Linked DNA regions of Homo sapiens: region 1 is linked to region 2. The links are contacts of gene promoters, found by promoter capture Hi-C in human tissues and cell types (Jung and others, 2019). All regions are on one chromosome and are shown on one strand. Each heading gives the region's core, a stretch centred on a gene start or on the middle of the fragment in contact. The rest is flanking DNA. Distances are from core to core; before and after follow the strand shown.

Region 1 (3,407 bases), core at 403-2,902, 1.1 Mb after region 2:
GGCTTCATACAGTAATCAGAGTGGAGGCATCGATATGTCTGAAAGCCACAGTTAACACTACTATATTGTTTCCTGTTGCTGCTGTTGTAGGTGAGATCATCCTGTTAAAAAAAAAAAAAAAAAAAAAAAAAAGCCACTCTCTGCAAAAGCTGTCTTGCTGCACTCAAACCCATAACCTATCTAATGGAAGCTAGAGTTACTGAAGTCCATGTGGTGAAGCCATACTGTAGACGTGGTCAGTATTGCCTCTCAGCTTTGAATTCCATGGGTCATATCTTCCACATTTGGTGCTCTCTGTTCCTGGGAGAATTTGGTTGGAAAAGTCCTTTTCATTTCTATTTTGTTCTACTCCATAGAGCTCAAGCAAAATGGCTTAATGCTGGAAAAAGGACCCCATACGAGACGTGCCATATTCAAATTTACCCTCCCTTCAGTTATTGGGATATTTTCATCAGGCCAATCTCATAGGCTTTGCATTTTATTTGTGGATGACTTTTTAAAAATCTTATGGAGCTCTTACACAAGCTTTGCATAGATACTTGACACCCACTGGTTTATTTAAATCAATGGATAAATTCAGTTTAGGCTGCCAAGCTGGCATTACTAGACCAAAGGTAATATTACTAGACCAAAGGTAATTCATGCTAAGTTCAGTATATCTGCCTTCATCTTAACCCTATCCACAGCCATCCCCTCCTATTCATATTTCAGGTTGTCGGAATTCAAACTGGTCTTACTATCCATATGTTAGGTTGTCAAAATTCAAACTGGTTTTACTATTCAAATTCCAGGTTTTACGCACACTTGCACTTACATACCAGCTCTCCACTTCTTATGTTAAATCAATCTACTTATCCTCTTGAGATTATGAGCCTGACATACAGGATGTTCACTTACAGAGAAAATCATAGTTTACTTTTTTAGACCTGTTTATGCCACTCTACATGGAGAAGAAAATTGATGGGCTACTTAGATAGAAAACCCTCTTCAAGCCAGTCTAGCAAGGTCTCACTAGGGGATATTTCAATGGGAAAATATTTCTTTGTTACTCCTCCTATGCCCAAGCCCGGATTTGAAGTCCCAGAAGGAATCTGGATTGGGATGGGAAAAAATCTGGTAGTGTTGTGGAACCCAGACTAGGAGTTCATATGGAAGAAGAAAGAAAGCGGACGCCAGAGCACCATCGTACCTCACGCCACCCACAGGACACCAATAAAGCAACCTGTGACGATCAATGCTGGAAATGAGTGCCTTGGAGTTAGTGTTAAATGGATGCATGAGAATCTCAATTGAAGTTAAAAATATATACGATGAGCAAACTGAATGGAAGTAGAAAAATGGCAGTTATGAACACAACATTCAAAAGTGCCCCATCTCTATGTGTGAATGGGATTTTCAGCTTTCCTGGAACAAGGGAAGCTACTTGAGAAGAATTTATGTCTAGAATAAGAACAAATGAGATAATACTTTTTCAAACTTACCCTACCAGTAAATACTGCTGAACAATCTGTCTAATTTCTGTATGCAGTTACCTCCAGAAACATCAGAGAACCTATGGGAACTGGTATACGATGCCAATATTGAGTTTTGTGAGCACATGGGTTTTGAGACAACCTCTTAAAGAGCCCTTTCAAAATCAACAGAGCCTTGAAATAGTAAAAGACTCTGCTCTAGCCCTTACAATTTGAGTTTAGTATTGGATTGTTGGGATCCATTTAATACTGAGGTTCCAAGCCTGGGTTAAAAACTTTGCTAGGTCAAGAGCTACACCTTTGCCCCTTTTCCACCTGAGGTAAATTATTTCCTCCAAGAAATTACTTTCCTTTTTGAGCAAGTAACTTTCTGAAATGCTGAGAGAAACTGGTACTTTAAAATAGATAATTTGCCTCAGATGGGTCACACACTTTATTTCCAGAAGCCAGTTTAATTTTTTTTTTCCTTCACTCTGATGATTGGGTCAAATCCTTATTAATAAAATGTGTGCTACTGGAAAGGAAAGACACCTTTGTTACTTAATCCATGTGCGGCCATTTATATTTGGCATGCATAAATGTCATGAAGAACAGGGAAAAAATATAATTCATGAGCAAAATGCATTTTATGCTACTGTTCCCTTGCCAAATTAAGTATTATAGTTGGAAATTTAGGGTGGAGGCTCACTTTGGGAAAAAAGAATCAAATTGTCTGGGGATTTTGCTTTCATCACCAAAGGGATTTTATGTGTTTGGAAGGATCATCAATTCCTGACTTGGTGGTAGACAATACTCTTACTTCACGCAGGTCCTGCAGAATTCTAATATGGCTTGGTTGAAATTTCTTCTTTTGACTAGAAACTTTTTTCACATTTTTTTTCAGTATTCCCTTTGATGCAGTCAAAATAGGTGGACAAATACGTTGTCTACACTGAAACAAAGCTTGCTTGAATTCACCTATATGATGATGTCTTCATGAGCTTGCTTTGCCTTTCCAAATCTATCTTTAAAAGATTCACTAATCTCCAGATTTTAAAACATAGAGGAATGTTCCAACAGTACATTTTTCAAGTGATGTAAAAAGTTCTTGGAATTAATTTGTCATCAGCCTTGCTCTAAGGACGGTGTTGTTTCAGCCATGGCCATTTAGGAACTGATCATTGCTACCTACAACCCTGTTGAAAAGGCCCACTTCGTGCAAAAGTCAAAAGTAAAAAAAAAAAAAAAACTTTGTATACATTTTTTTTTCCACTGGATGTATTACATGGTTAAATTTATTTTTTTAAATTTGGAAAACAAACTTACTTTTAAGCACTTTCATGTCCTAACAAGTTTAAAACACACATAGAAGCGGAAGCATTCCTTCACCTGATGTTTCAGCGTTCAAGGTACTGAAAGTCGCTTGCTCATACAATGATATAAAGTTGATGAGTAATAAAGACACCTGATTTTATTTTTGCTCATGTGTCTCATGATGACAAAATTTGAGACAGGTCAACAAGAAATATTTACTAGATCTAGTAGTTGTTACTACATTTAAATTGATAGTTTCTAATAATGATGTTTTGCATAGGTCATAAGGAATTTTCTGTGAGAAATATTAGGAATAAAAGGATTTTCTTCACTCTTCACATGTGTTCTACAGATGTTCACAGACTAGTCTTCCTTTTATAGGCTCTGAATAAAGATAAAATATGGTGGAAATCAACCAATTCGTCATTGCTGTTTTATGCTGTAGAAATTACCCTTAATTTTCACTTACCTTTGTGTTCAAGGTCAAAGCCACCCCCATGAAAACTCCCAAACTACACACCAAAAAAACAAATCAAACGAAATAAAGCATTGCAAGAATGTGAAATTTGTGTTGAAAACATCTGGCTGACTATTCTCCCAGGCTATGCTCGGCACTCATTATTCATATAAATTGTGAGAAAG
Region 2 (3,506 bases), core at 363-2,862:
TCTACTGAAAAATACAAAAAATTAGCCAGGCGTGGTGGCGGGCACCTGTAGTCCCAGCTACTCCGGAGGCTGAGGCAGAAGGGCGTAAACCTGGAAAGTGGAGCTTGGAGTGAGCAGAGATCGTGCCACTGCAATCCAGCCTGGGCGACAGAGCGAGACTCTGTCTCAAAAAAAAAGTATCTGGTCAAAGTTACACAGCAAAATCTAACTTAACACATATATGCAAAAAAAAAAATTGTGCAATTCAATGCCACTTTCCCTTCTGGCAAACTAAGGACATGCTTAACATTCAGCAATAGGTTCACCCGACATTTGCTTAGCCCTAGATACTGTGCAAAGTACTTCCATATATATCCTTTCCTTGTACCCTTACAGCAATACTCTCAAAGAGTTAAAGTGTTCTTATCCCTGCTTTACAGATGATAAAACTGTATCTAAGAAAGATTAAGCTGCACGTATTCTCACAGTTAATTTGCTCTAAGTCTGACTGCATAGATGTTACTCCTTCTGCAACACGGGTAAAATCCACTTTCATTGTTTCAATTATCCACCATGTAAGTGCCTATGATTCCCCAATCGCATTTCTAATTTTAGTATTCATCCTGAGCCCCAAATCTATCCACAGCATTCAACAGTTCTCATCTCCCTTATAAGTCCTACGAACTCATCCAAAAAACGAACACATAATCCCATATCAAAACTTGTTCCTTCTCCTTTAATCCCTTTCATTTTTTTTCACTGATTAGTGAATGCATATTGTCCACTAAAACGCAGAAGATAGTCATTACACAAATAGCTGTGAAATACCACCTGACATAAATTCTCTATTCCAGTACCATCGGGTGCCACGAGAGCATATGATAGCGTCTGACATGATCAGAAAGACTGGGGAAGGCAACAGTAAGAAAACACTAGTCTGAGCAGAGGCCTTGTTCTGGGTGGGAGCATGGTTCTATTTATAGTGATGACTGACCGGCCAAAGGTTAGTAGGTTCGCTGCCTCTTCAGTGCATATTCCTATGAACAATCCATAAAGTCGCCTAATGAAGTGTTAGCACCATCGTTTTTAGGTGGGATGCAAACTTTCAATATTATGACTAATTTTTTCCCTCTTAATGGTACACGTTCTGCCTAAGTAGCCTAGACGCTCCCGTGCGCCCGGGGCGGGTAGGCCTGGCCGAAAATCTCTCCCGCGCGCCTGACCTTGGGTTGCCCCAGCCAGGCTGCGGGCCCGAGACCCCCGGGCCTCCCTGCCCCCCGCGCCGCCCCGATTTGCCCTCAGAGAGGGTATCGATCTTATTTCTGGGTCTACGGCAAACTCCAAGGTCTACAAACGTAGAGGTCAGCTGTGACCCCGGGCCAGGCCGTGAAGGTCCCCAGGACACAGAGCTGCTCTCTCCTCCTAGTAAAGGTGAGAGGCAGCCCAGGCCTCGTGAAAAAACCCAGAACTGGAGTCCCAAAAGGCCACGCTGATCTAGCTACCCTCCCAGTCACCTTGCACTCAGTCCCGAGCTGCCAAAGCCTCCGCCGCCACCACCTCCGCTCTACTTCCGGCCCTGGCTCCGCCCCCACACGCCTACCCGCCATCGCAATGCATTATGGGCCGCCGTTTCAGTCGGTCGACGCTCACCGGACAGGAAGCGTCTCGGAGACAGTCTGCGACCGGACGGGTCTAGGTGAGACAGAAGCCAAACAGGAGGAGGAAGTGGAGGGTAAGTGCTTCCGGGTCCCCTGGCACAGCCTCCGCCATCTTTTCTTCGCCTAATTTGACCCGTTCTTTTTCCCCTCCTTGAAACCTTGCTCTGTACGCATGCGCTCTTTGAGTGGCCTTTCCCCTAGTTCAAGCTCCCCTCCGAGTCAGCGTCCTGTTCGTTAGGGTTATCGAAGTGTATAAAGGTGCAGGGAAAGTGAGACTGTGTAAAACAAAGCGGATTGGGGCGTTGTGCTTCCTTGTACCTCGTGAGCCTCCGTTGCCTTGGGCGGTCGTTTTGCGCACCCTGCCGGGAGTTGTAGTCCTGGACCCGAAGGTGCCTGGGAGGCGGGAGGGGGGTTGGGGCTTCTCAGCGCCGATTCCGCGGGAAGGGCCCTGGGACCTCACACTTCTAGTCGCGGGAGCTGCAGGTCTTACCCGGAGAGACGCTGCACGTGGAGCCCTCGCCGCTGCCGTTCTCAGCCGGCTCTGGAGTGCGGGCGGGGGCGACAGGGCCGATTCCGGAGTGGGTGAGTGCGGCCGCCGGGGAGGAGGGGAGCGCGGGCCCTCGCGGGCCGGCCTCGTTCCGGGGCCTTTTCCCCCACAAGGGCCCCCCCGCGGCCGCCTCTGTGTTTTGTTTCCGCTGGTCCCCGGCGCTGTGACTCCCATTTCCGTTCGTGGAGACTTGAGGGAGCCGGGTGGGGAGGGGCGGGAGAGCTGTGCGGGGAGCGAAGGGGAGGGGCGGGGGGCGAGCGGCCTGGAGCCCGGGGGGACCGGGCACCGCCGGGACCCGTGCCGGACGGGTCGCCTGTCGCCGCTCCCTCCTTTCCGCGTCCCCTCCTCGCCCGTCCGCACTCCTCAGCAGTCTCAGCCTGCTCAGCTGGGATGTGGTCCTGACGCCCCCGAGATTTTAAGAGCAAAATGCAGACCCTGTCTCATCGCGGGACTCAGCGATTCACTCATTTCAAATCCGCTCTCTTTATAGAACAACACACACCAGAATCATTTATCAGCGTATATGGTAGCCATCTGGGTTTGTTTTTTTGTTTTTAAGCAAGGAAGTAAACCAAGGAGATAACAATGGGTTGTCTACTTGGAAATTTTTTTGTGTACTAGAAGACACGCTGTATGTGCGTGTTTGGATTTAGGGACCCCAGTTTGATCAGGTTAGCGGACCGAGAGGACAATGCCTAATATTGCATTGCAAGATGATTAGAAATTTAGAAATAAAATTCATTTCATAAGTAGTTTCCACTAATAGCAGTAGGTCTGACTCGTGAGAAGAGCAAAGATTTAGCAGGATTCACTTGAGCGAATTGTAGAACGAGGCGGTGATAACATTCTTCGGTAGTGTTATCTTGAACTTCAGAAGAAACCGCTCAACTCTTTAGCAACTGCTTGAGGGACTAGCCTGTCTCTCAGGGTTCCATCCAGGCTTTCCAAGCTTCTTTATTTTTAGACATACAGTGACGCTGAGTGGACTTCAAGTCAATTTTACCTGAATTGTGTATACAAGAGCATCTGTCATGAGGCATGTATAGTAATGAAGTAATTAAATCATGAGCTAGATGTTAGGTTGAAGCAAATCATCAGACCGAGTACTAAATTAAAACTGTTGACTTTAGCCTTCCCTCAACTCTTTATATATAAAACTCCAAACCTACAGAAGAATTGGGGAAAAAATCATGCAGTGAACACGCAGATACCCTTCACCTGAGGGTCCCAACTGTTAATCTTTCACTGTATGTGCTTTCTCTTTTTATATTACATAGATATGTATGCTTTGCTTTTTCTTAACTGCTACCTTTATTTTTGAA

What was found. The method cuts DNA at HindIII sites, captures the fragments that hold promoters and counts their contacts. A contact is called where the count stands out against the background at its distance.
Region 1: a contact is called between a fragment that was not itself captured here and the fragment with the promoter of GABPA in region 2, in 1 of the 25 tissues and cell types used here (heart left ventricle).

Annotation. Positions count from the first base shown.
Region 1 is chr21:26,807,087-26,810,493 of GRCh38, forward strand. No RefSeq gene overlaps it. Among named protein-coding and RNA genes, the nearest start is that of ADAMTS1, 37 kb to the right of the region's middle. The HindIII fragment of the contact is 3,946 bases long and covers 1-3,407 here.
Region 2 is chr21:25,733,360-25,736,865 of GRCh38, forward strand. GABPA (GA binding protein transcription factor subunit alpha) reads left to right here and starts at 1,613. Exons shown (of 10, transcript NM_002040.4): 1 at 1,613-2,219. It overlaps ATP5PF (ATP synthase peripheral stalk subunit F6), which reads right to left and starts at 1,545. Exons shown (of 4, transcript NM_001003703.2): 1 at 1,494-1,545. RefSeq lists enhancers at 967-1,046, 1,365-2,020, 1,447-1,556, 1,577-1,696 and silencers at 1,157-1,256, 2,197-2,336, 2,397-2,606. The HindIII fragment of the contact is 8,192 bases long and covers 1-3,506 here.